Regions from separate parts of the Homo sapiens genome. Here region 2 is linked to region 1. The links are contacts of gene promoters, found by promoter capture Hi-C in human tissues and cell types (Jung and others, 2019). All regions are on one chromosome and are shown on one strand. The core of a region is centred on a gene start or on the middle of the fragment in contact, and the rest is flanking DNA. Distances in the headings are between cores, read along the strand shown.

Region 1 (5,156 bases), core at 1,401-3,900:
TTGAAGTTTCATGGTTCGAATGTCAAATTCTAATGGAGGCATAAGAGTGCAGATTCCATGAGTGCTTTTACAAGAAGTTGATGTTGCTTGGGTTTTATGTTTTATGTTGTATTTAGCACAAAAGCCATTTTAAAAAAGTGTTATAAGGAAATATCTGAAAACATTCAGTCCATAGACCCTGGTGATGAAACGTCCCCCAAACACAATGGCTCACTCAGAACATACTCCTATGGAATAGTTTCCACAAATCAAACTCATACGAATATAGGGAGGATACATAAGAATGCAAAATCAGGCCAAGCCTGCTGGCTCATGCCTATTATAATCCCAGCACTTTGGGAGGCCAAGGCAGGTGAATTGCTTGAGCGCAGGAGTTCAAGACCAGCTTGGGCAACATAGTGAGACCTTCTCTCTACTAATAATAAGAAAGATTAGCTGGGCATAGTGACTCATGCCTGTAGTCCTAGCTACTCAGGAGGCTGAGGTGGGAGGATCACTTGAGTCCCGGGGTTCAAGGCTACAATGAGCTGTGATCACGCCACTGAACTGTAGACAGGGTGACACAGATCTTGTCTCAAAACAACAACAACGGCAACAACAACAACAACGTTCTGAAGCATCACATTAGCCAGGGGTTTCTGAATACTTACTTTGTACCAATGTTACTTTAAGTTCTGCATATATATTACTAGGTTGGTATAAAAGTAATCGTGGTTTTTGCCGTTATGTTTAATACTTTGCACCAACCTAATAGCTCACAGAATAAAAAAAAAAGTCTATGAGGTAGGTACAGTTTTCATCCTTATTTTACAAATGAGAAAAGGAGGCCAAGAATGATAAAGTAACTTGGTCTCACAGCCAGAAAGTGATGGAGCCAAGATTTGAACTTGGGCAGTTGGACTGTGTTCTTAGTCACTGTGCTTCCTGGGTGATTACTGTGACCCTTGTACTTGACACTCTGCTATCAATTACAAGAGCCATTTCTGTGTGTGCACTTGATTTCCTTGGGGTCTCCAGGGAAATGTAATTGTCTCCTCAAGTCCAGGCTTTCCTAGAAGACATGGTGATTGCACTGATAACCAGCATTAGGGCTGGCTTTGGGAAAGCTCAGTACCTATGATTTATGGTTAGTATCTTAGATTTTAGAACGCTGAGCAGGAAGTTTTTGTGCTTTCTGAAATCCTCACACCTTTAAGTCTCATGATTGGTGAGGAGGCAGTGGTCCAAGGGAATGGATAGAAGGAGATAATAAGATAAGCCAAATGTTTCAAAGGGAGTGAAAACTGTTGAATGTAAATGCAGCTCAAGGAAGACTTCCCTATCTGAATAAAAAGGTGCAAATAATGCGGCCTATTTGTATGCATGGTGGCTTAATGATGTTGATGGTGATGATGATAGCTTTACACTATCAGAGCGCTCATTCTGGGCTAGGCAGTTTTCTCAGTGGGGTACAGATATTAATTTATTTACAGTGAGCCAGAGAAGTCTGCTGTAGCTTTTAATGCGTCTAAAATGGGACACATGAACCCCTTAGGAATTTTCAGACTGATCAGGACAGTTTCCTAGAAACAGTTCGTGAAAGGGATGAGATGGGCCCATGGTATCTACCCCTTCCTAGCTGCGTGAACTTGGGCAACTCAACCTTCTTGTGCTGTTTCTCTATGGCTAGTGCGTGTAATTTGTTGTTGTTGTTGTTGTTTGCTTTTGAGACGTTGTCTCACTCAGTTGCCCAGGCTGGAGTGCAGTGGCACGATCTTGGCGCACTGCAACCTCCTTCAAGTTATTCTCCTGCCTCAGCCTCCCAAGCAGCTGGGGTTACAGGCATGCGCCACCATGCCCGGCTCATTTTTGTATTTTCTGTAGAGATGGAGTTTCACCATGTTGGTCAGGCTGGTCTCGAACTCCTGACCTTAGGTGATCCGCCCACCTTGGCCTCCCAAAGTTCTGGGATTACAGGTGTGAGCCACCACTCCCGGCCTAGTATGTGTCATTGACAATTGTTCCTACCTCAAAGGCTGTTATGAGGATTAAATGAGCTAATGCATGTAAAATGCATCTGCATAATATATAACACAGCTCGATAAATGTGAGTTGCTATTGTTGATTATTATGGCCACGTTTGCCGCTGATGATGTTCAACCACTGAAAAGCATCGTTTTCTTTCTTCTAGTAACTGTGTGTACTGAATGCCTCGCGTTTGTCCCTACTGCACTTTTCAGTCTGTCACAATCCTGGGTCGTCGGGGGACTGTACCGAGCGCCCTTGGAGTGCTCGCAGCAGGGAAGAAGGAGCGAGCAGGGAGGAGCTGAGGAGGGTCGGAGCGGAATGGACACCCAGAGACTGAGATGAGAGAGGGGCTATAAGAAGAGAAACCAGTCGCAGGAAAACAGAACTCTCGACAAACGCACGCCCTCTTTGCGCTCTCCGTTTCTCTGGACCTGGATGGAATTGTTTTACTTTGCATCGCCGGACTGCGCTGCGGACGGGGTGGGGCGGCCCAATGGCCCCCCTGGGGTTACTCTGCTCCCCTTCACGCTTCCCTCCCGGCCCCGCCCCGCGATTGGCCGGCGCGCCCCGGGGCTGCCGCCGATTGGTGCTCGCCGGCCGGAGCCGCGGGGCTTAAAGAGGGGGCGGGGGCGCGCTGCCCAGCAGCGCTGCTGTCCCCGCCGTGCGCCCTTCGCCGCTGAGCTCGCAGCCTCCGGCGCCCACCTCCACCTCCAGTGTCCCGCCTCGGGCCGTCGCCCTCCAGCGGCTCGCGAGCGTGGGAGACGTACCTGGGCAGGCACTGTCCAGCCCAGGCCCAGGCACAGCCGTGAGGGGCGAGGCACGGGGACATCCTGGCGGCCACCATGGTGGCCACGTGCCTGCAGGTGGTGGGCTTCGTCACGAGCTTCGTGGGCTGGATCGGGGTCATCGTGACCACCTCCACCAATGACTGGGTGGTGACCTGCGGCTACACCATCCCCACCTGCCGCAAGCTGGATGAGCTGGGCTCCAAGGGGCTGTGGGCCGACTGCGTCATGGCCACGGGGCTGTACCACTGCAAGCCCCTGGTGGACATCCTCATCCTGCCGGGTAAGGACCCGAGCTTGGCGGCGGCTCCCAAATCCTTATCCTCTGGGTAGAGAGCGGGATATTAGACGGCGTCACAGAGACATTTTGGGGGCTTGAAGACCTTTGGGTACGTTTTTGACATCCCTAGTCCCACCTTGTTGTAAAAGAATTAGGCAGCCCCGAACTTAACTTCTCTAGGCCGCAGTATTCTTATCTGGAATTTGAGATAATAGTGGCAATGTGGCCGGTGGTAACACTGGCCGGGTCCCTTTGAGAATGAACAAACCGGAACACCTAATAGGAACTGAGTCCGTGTTAATTACTGCGGTCCCAGCCCGCATCCTTCCACCGTCCGCTTCCCGAAGTGCTTCCCGCTCCCGCCCGGCCTCCCCCGGGGCGCCGAGCCTTCGCGTTAGGTTCCGCCCGCAGAGGTGAGAAGGAGCGTGTAACACAAGCTGACAGGAGAATCGAACCGGCTCAGGCTGAGTTTCTCGGTCCTCATGGGATGGGCGAAGCGCCCCCGGCCAGGTTAGAGCCCTCCTAGCTCCGTCCGCGCAGCCGCTGAGCAATTCACGTCCAGGGCTCTCTGGGCTGCCTGGTTTGGGAAATGTCACGTTGATTCCCGCACGTGCCCAGGGCCATCTCCGCTGCCCCCGCTACCCCCGCCCCTGCTGTGGGCGCGTCAGACTGCGGGGCTGCGGTGACGCCGGCTCCCGCTCCGCGCCGCTGGGTTGGATAGGGACGAGCGGGCGCTCCTCGGAGGGCGGACTCCACTGGGGAGATACGGAGCGCGCCGCCGAGGGTCGCTCGCCGCCACCCCTCCAGCGTGTCTCAGATTGGGAAGGGGAGGTAAAAATTGACAGCCTAGCGCCGGCCAGGGGCCACATTTTCACATGTGTCCTGTGGAAACATTTTGGGCGACAGCCTCAATTCAGATTTAAACCAATGGGTTGGGCAATGGCGAGGTCGCGGGCACCCCCTTGGTTTTCTGCTGGAATCTCTGCTCTACCCCCAAGGCATGTCCCTACAAGGTGGGCTTCTGTCCCCCAGCCTTCGTGGATTGTGCTCACTTAAAGGATTTTCCCGGTTTCCTCAAGATGGGGAGAAACCTGTCCCTGAAGCCGCCAGTCAGATAAGACTGTGCTCGCCCCTTAAGCCTCCTCCAAGCACGCCCTATTTCCGGTCCTCGCAGTCGGAATCTGAATCCCTCCTTTCTCCTTGCTGCCTAGTACTTGGCTCTTATCCTCACAAAGGCACATTTTATCTTGTTTTTTGTTGATTGTTCGTGAGTGAAGTTCTCCCACTACGTTTTAAATTCCTTGAAGATAGAGATGGCGTCCTGTTATTCTCTTTGCTTCCTCTTCTGGACCTGGCATGGCCTCTGGCACACAATAGCTGCGGGCAGTGCTTGCCTGGTTTGCCTTACGCTATCCTTTCCTTCATTTTGAACTTTCAGAAGGCCAGAGGTCAACGAACGCAGATCTAGACTCAGCTTTGGCTAATGCTGGTGTTGGCAGACCCGGGCCAGCCTCCGGCATCCAGGACTCACAATCTGGGTGAGGGGGGACAAATTGCTAGCCTCAGTGAACCACGGTTGTCTTCTTTTAAAAGTTAAAATCAGATCAACCACCCATCTTTCACGATTATTTGAGGATTAAATGAGATAAGAAATGTAATCTCCTTTGAGATAGTAGATGCTTCATGAATGGTACCTATAGTATTTTATTAAAAGCTGGGCATGGTATTTGTAGGGATCTTTGAAGCATAAAATTAACTTTGTTTTCTTCTCCTGAAATTAACTTTACTGAGCATTCAGTGCCAAGTGGTTTGTTTTCAGAGAACAAAGGCTGTCCTCCAGAGGGGAGTGCATACTCTGGGGGTGGGGGGGGGGTGGGGGGCGGCGCTAGTCCTTCCTGCCTTCCCCCTCCCTCATACTTTGGGTGGAGGCAGGAACAGTCCTCTGTCCCTATCTTTTGGTGTCCGGACATGGCCTTGGCACTGTAGCATGTGGACAGCCAGTGCCATGGATTTCAGAACCTGCATTGCCAGTTGACTGCCTGCTTTGTGTGAGTACTGGCTCTCTACAAGCCGCAGAGGCGGAC
Region 2 (4,808 bases), core at 1,376-3,875, 230 kb after region 1:
CGTGGAGGCTTTGCTCATTCCTTTTCATTCTTTTTTCTCTACTCTCATCTGCATGCCTTATTTCAAGAAGATGGTCTTCAATCTCTGATGTCCTTTTTTCCACTTGATCAATTTGGCTATTGATACTTGGGTATGCTTCACGGAGTTCTTGTACTATGTTTTTCAGCTCCATCAGGTCATTTATGTTCCTCTCTAAACTGGTTATTCTAGTTAGCCATTTCTGTAACCTTTTATCAAATTTCTTAACTTCCGTGCGTTGGGTTAGAACATGCTCCTTTAGCTAAGAGGAGTTTGTCATTACCTACCTTCTGAAGCCTACTTCTGTCAATTTCTCAATCTAATTCTCCAACCAGTTTTGTGCCCTCGCTGGAGAGGAGTTGCAATCATTTGGAGAAGAAGAGGCATTCTGGCTTTTCGAATTTTCAGAATTTTGCACTGGTCTTTCCTCATCTTCCTGGATTTATCTACCTTTGATCTTTGAGGCTGATTACCTTTGAATAGGGTTTTTGTGTGCGGGTCTTTTTTGTTGTTTTTGTTGTTGCTTTCTCTTTGTTATTTTTTCTTCTAACAGTCAGGCCCCTCTTCTGCAGGTCTGCTGCAGTTTGCTGGAGGTCCACTCCAGACACTCTTCCCCTGGGTATCATCAGTGGAGGCTGCAAAACAGCAATGATTGCTGCCTGCTTATTTCTCTGAAAGCTTCATCCCAGAGGGGCACCTGCCAGATGCCAGTTGGAGCTCTCCTGTATGAGGTGTCTGTCGACCCCTGTTGGGAGGTCTCTCCCAGTCAGGAGGCACGGAGGCCAGGGACCCACTTGAGGAGGCAGTTTGTCCCTTAGCAGAGCTGGTGTGCTGTGCTGGGAGAATCTCCCTTGTCAGGATCAGCTGCTCACTTGAGAGCCAGCAGGCAGGAAAGATTAAATCTGCTGAAGCAGGGCCCACAGCCGCCCCTCCCACCAGGTGCTCTGTCCCAGGTAGATGAGAGTTTTATCTGTAAGCCCCTGACTGGGGCTGCTGCATTTCCTGTAGAGATGCCCTGCCCGGTGACAGGAATCTAGAGAAGCAGTCTGGCCACAGCCACTTTGCCATGCTGTGGTGAATTCTGCCCAGTCCAAACCTCCCAGTCTCCTTCGCACTGTCGGGGGAAAACTGCCTACTAAAGCCTCAGTGATGGTGGATACCCCTCTGCTCACCAAGCTCCATCATCCCAGGTCAACTCCAGACTTCTACGCTGGCAGTGAGAATTTCAAGCCAGTGGTTCTTGGTTTGCTGGGCTTTGTGGGAGTGGGACCTGCTGAGTGAGACCACTTGGCTCCCTAACTTCATTCAGGCCCCTTTCCAGGGGAGTGGACGGTTCTCCTGTCCCATTGGGGTTCCAGGTGCCACTGGGATATGAAAAATCTCCTGCAGCTAGCTCAGTGCCTGCCTAAACAGCCACCCAGTTTTGTGCTTGAAACTCAGGGTTCTGGTGGTGTAGGCTCACAAAGGAATCTATTGATCTGTGGATTGCGAAGATCTGTGGGAAAAGCATAGTACCCGGGGCGGGTAGCACTGTCCCTCATGGCTTCCCTTGGCTGGGGGAGGCAGGTCCCCTGCCACCTTGCACTTCCCAGGTAAAGCCATGCCCCGCCCTGCTTCTGCTTGCTCTCTGTGGGTTGCATCCACTGCCTAACCAGTTCCGTGAGATGAACTGGTACCTCATTTGGAAATACAGAAATCACCTGCCTTCTGCATTGGTCTCGCTGGGAGCTGCAGACCAGAGCTGTTCCCATTCGGCTATCTTGGCCCTTACCCAAATGGAGAATTTTTTAAACTAGTGATGCCAAGGCCCCACTCCAGACTGATTAAATCAGCAGGTCTGTCCTATGCATGCTGATGTATTTGGCTGAGGTCATAATGTCTGCATCTTATTTTCCAAAGCATTTTGTGTGTATTTATATTTCTCTATCTATCTATCTAAATGTTACTATGTATATATATATGTGTATTGTACTGTTATTCCACATTTTCTGTATGTTTGACATTTTTCAAAATAAAGATTGAGAAAAAATGATGAGTATCTCCAGGATTGGCTGGGTCATCTGTCTTCACAAAGTTTCTGTGTGGTGCTCCTGTCCAGAGCTGGCGAGATTGAGGGCACTTAACGTTTGACACACTGCTTTGACTCTGACTCCCCTAGGAGACTGTCCTACCCTGAGGACAGGGGCCTCGTGTGCCTCAGAACTTTGCATTCCCCTATCCCCCAGCCCTAGAATGTGCCTGGCATATAGTGGGCATTGAATACATATTTGATGAGCCTAACCAAAAGGAAGTTACATTCAGGGCAGATAGGTGAATATGTATTTATTATTCTTTCAATCAATCAATCAATCAATCAATCAATCTTTCGTCACTTATGGAGTGCCTATTGTTTCATGCATGTTTTAGGCACAATGGATCATCTAATGATCTAATGAAGGACAGGGTTTCTCACTCTTGGAAGTATGGAGATTTTGGCCCAGATAATTCTTTGTTGTAGGGGGCTGTCCTGCGCTTTGTAGGATGCTTAGCAGCATTTTTTATCTTTACTCACTAGATGATAGTAGCAACATACCTCCAACCTCACAAGTTGTGTTAATCAAAACTTTCTCCAGACATTACCAAATGTCCTCTGGGAGCAAAATTTTAACCTCCAGTTAAAAAGCACTGATCTGTAAGACAGCCTGCCTTTAAAAAATCTGAACAGTAATGAAGGAAATGGATATATATACACGTGTGTGTGTGTGTGTGTGTGTGTGTGTGTGTGTGTGTGTGTGTGCAATGAAAGATAAGATGTGTGAAGGACTGTAATGTATCAGAATGTTATGAAGCATAAGAAGAGAAAAAGTTAATTTCATTTGGGGGCATTTGGGAAGACATTATTGTAAGCACTGGGTTTGGGTTTTAGTAGCTTTGTGGATGGGAAGCTCTTTCAATGTAATTTCCTTTCCTAAGCTTCTGCCAGCTTACATCTACACAGCCTGCGGTCACCCTTGTCGTCTTCTGAACCTTGTTTCTTAGACGAAGAAACTGAATCCAAGCGAGTTTGGATTACTTGAGGTAAGAGGTGGTTTACAACACAGACCTTGGAACCAGACTGCCTGGCTTTGAATCCTAACTCTACCAATTTCCAGTCGTGAGCTTAGGGCTTGTGATTTAACCTCTTAACACCTCAGTGTCCACATACAGAAAATGGAGCTAATAATAGCTTCTATCATCTCATAGAGTTTTAGTGAGAAATTTACATGTGTCAAATGTTTAGAACAGCACCTGGCCTCCATATATACATAAAAAACTATGGAAGTGTTTGCTACTATCACTATTGTTACCAAAGCCATCCAGCAACTTGGTGGCTGAGGTGAAGTGATCAATTGGATCTGCAGTCTCCTGGCCCAGGGTTTTCTCCACTGCAAAGTCTTTTTGCTGGCACCACTGGGAAAGGCAGACCCCATGAGCACCATTCTCTGTTTAAACTTCACCATCCAATAGAAATATCAAGCAAGCCCCATGTGTAGATTTTCTAGTAGCCACATAAAAAAAGAAAAATGGATGAAATTAATTTTAGTAATACATTTTATTTTAGCCAATATATGAAAATATTAGTATTTCAATACGTAATCAATAAAAATTGTTAATGAGATATTTACATTTTTTTTTCCATACTAAGTCTTGGAATCCAGAGTGTACACATACAGCATATCTCAAGGAGCCACTTTTCAAGTGCTCAATAGGCGCATGTGGCTTGTGGCTGTCATATTGGAGAGTACAGATTTTCTAAACACTGCAAGGGCTTTCAAGGTGGCCGGACATTCATATTATTTCTGACTATGCCTAGGGGATGACAAATCAGCGCAAATAGTAAAAGTCTTCTTGAGTTTTTTGCAGGACACTGCATCCCCTTCCCCTTCCCCTTCCCTTTCCCCTTTCCCCTTTCCCCTTTCTCCCTTCTCCTCCTTCTTCTTCTTCCTTTTGTGAGAAAGCCAGCCGACTATTGCTCGGGGGCAGGCAACTCACAAGCTCTTTGTGGGGCTGGTCAGCTTCCTCTTCACCATCACAGACGTCTGGCTGCGCAGGATGGCGCTGGCCTTGCTGATGGCAGCCATGGCAGGTCAGGGCGGTACTTGTTCTTGCGGATCATGTATCTGATGCTGCTGAGTTTGGCTCCAGCGTTCTTGTTGATGATGGTCCGCACGTAGGAGATGGCAGGCGTCCGCTGGCCGGATCTCCGCTTCGTGACCACCAGGACACCTCTGCCATGGGCTGCCGGCTCCACGCCCACAGTCTTGCAGTGAATCAGCCGGTTGTAGCGGGAAGGAGTTGCGGGCCTTCAAGTTATTGGGCTCGGTGCTGTAGGTGTGTTTATTCCTCTTGATCAGGAAACTGGAGCAGTTCCGCATGATCACCGATTGCAGATGCGCAGACATGGCGGCAGCTCCTCTCACAGCGAACGCCGGAGACGGAAGGAGCTGGATACTCTTCTTGCTTGTTCCTATCCCAACTTCATCAAAATAAGGCGACTATTTTTTTTTTAAATGGTAGGAGTTCATTCATTAGCCTTTCCAACCTTGATTTAACTTAAGTACAGCTTTCAGTAAATCATGACACAACAGCTCCAGATGCCACCCAAGATGTTCAGAGGCGCATATGTAACCTCTGTGAGCCCGGAGCTCCTGCTTACCCTGCCAGATGAAGCCTTGCCACCTCTTTCCATGGCTAGCCTGGAATCTCCTGCCTTGACTCTTCTGTGGTGACCTCAGATTGCCTCCTAGGACCTCCTGAGTGGGCCAGCATCA

What was found. Contacts are between HindIII fragments. The study calls those that stand out against the background at their distance.
Region 2: a contact is called between a fragment that was not itself captured here and the fragment with the promoter of CLDN11 in region 1, in 2 of the 25 tissues and cell types used here (adrenal gland and mesendoderm cells).

Annotation. Positions count from the first base shown.
Region 1 is chr3:170,416,218-170,421,373 of GRCh38, forward strand. CLDN11 (claudin 11) reads left to right here and starts at 2,651. Exons shown (of 3, transcript NM_005602.6): 1 at 2,651-3,075. The coding sequence starts at 2,850. RefSeq lists an enhancer at 2,399-3,351. The HindIII fragment of the contact is 16,199 bases long and covers 1-5,156 here.
Region 2 is chr3:170,649,821-170,654,628 of GRCh38, forward strand. The region is part of intron 2 of SLC7A14-AS1 (SLC7A14 antisense RNA 1); the gene reads left to right. It also overlaps the pseudogene RPL28P1. Among named protein-coding and RNA genes, the nearest start is that of SLC7A14, 66 kb to the left of the region's middle. The HindIII fragment of the contact is 4,972 bases long and covers 140-4,808 here.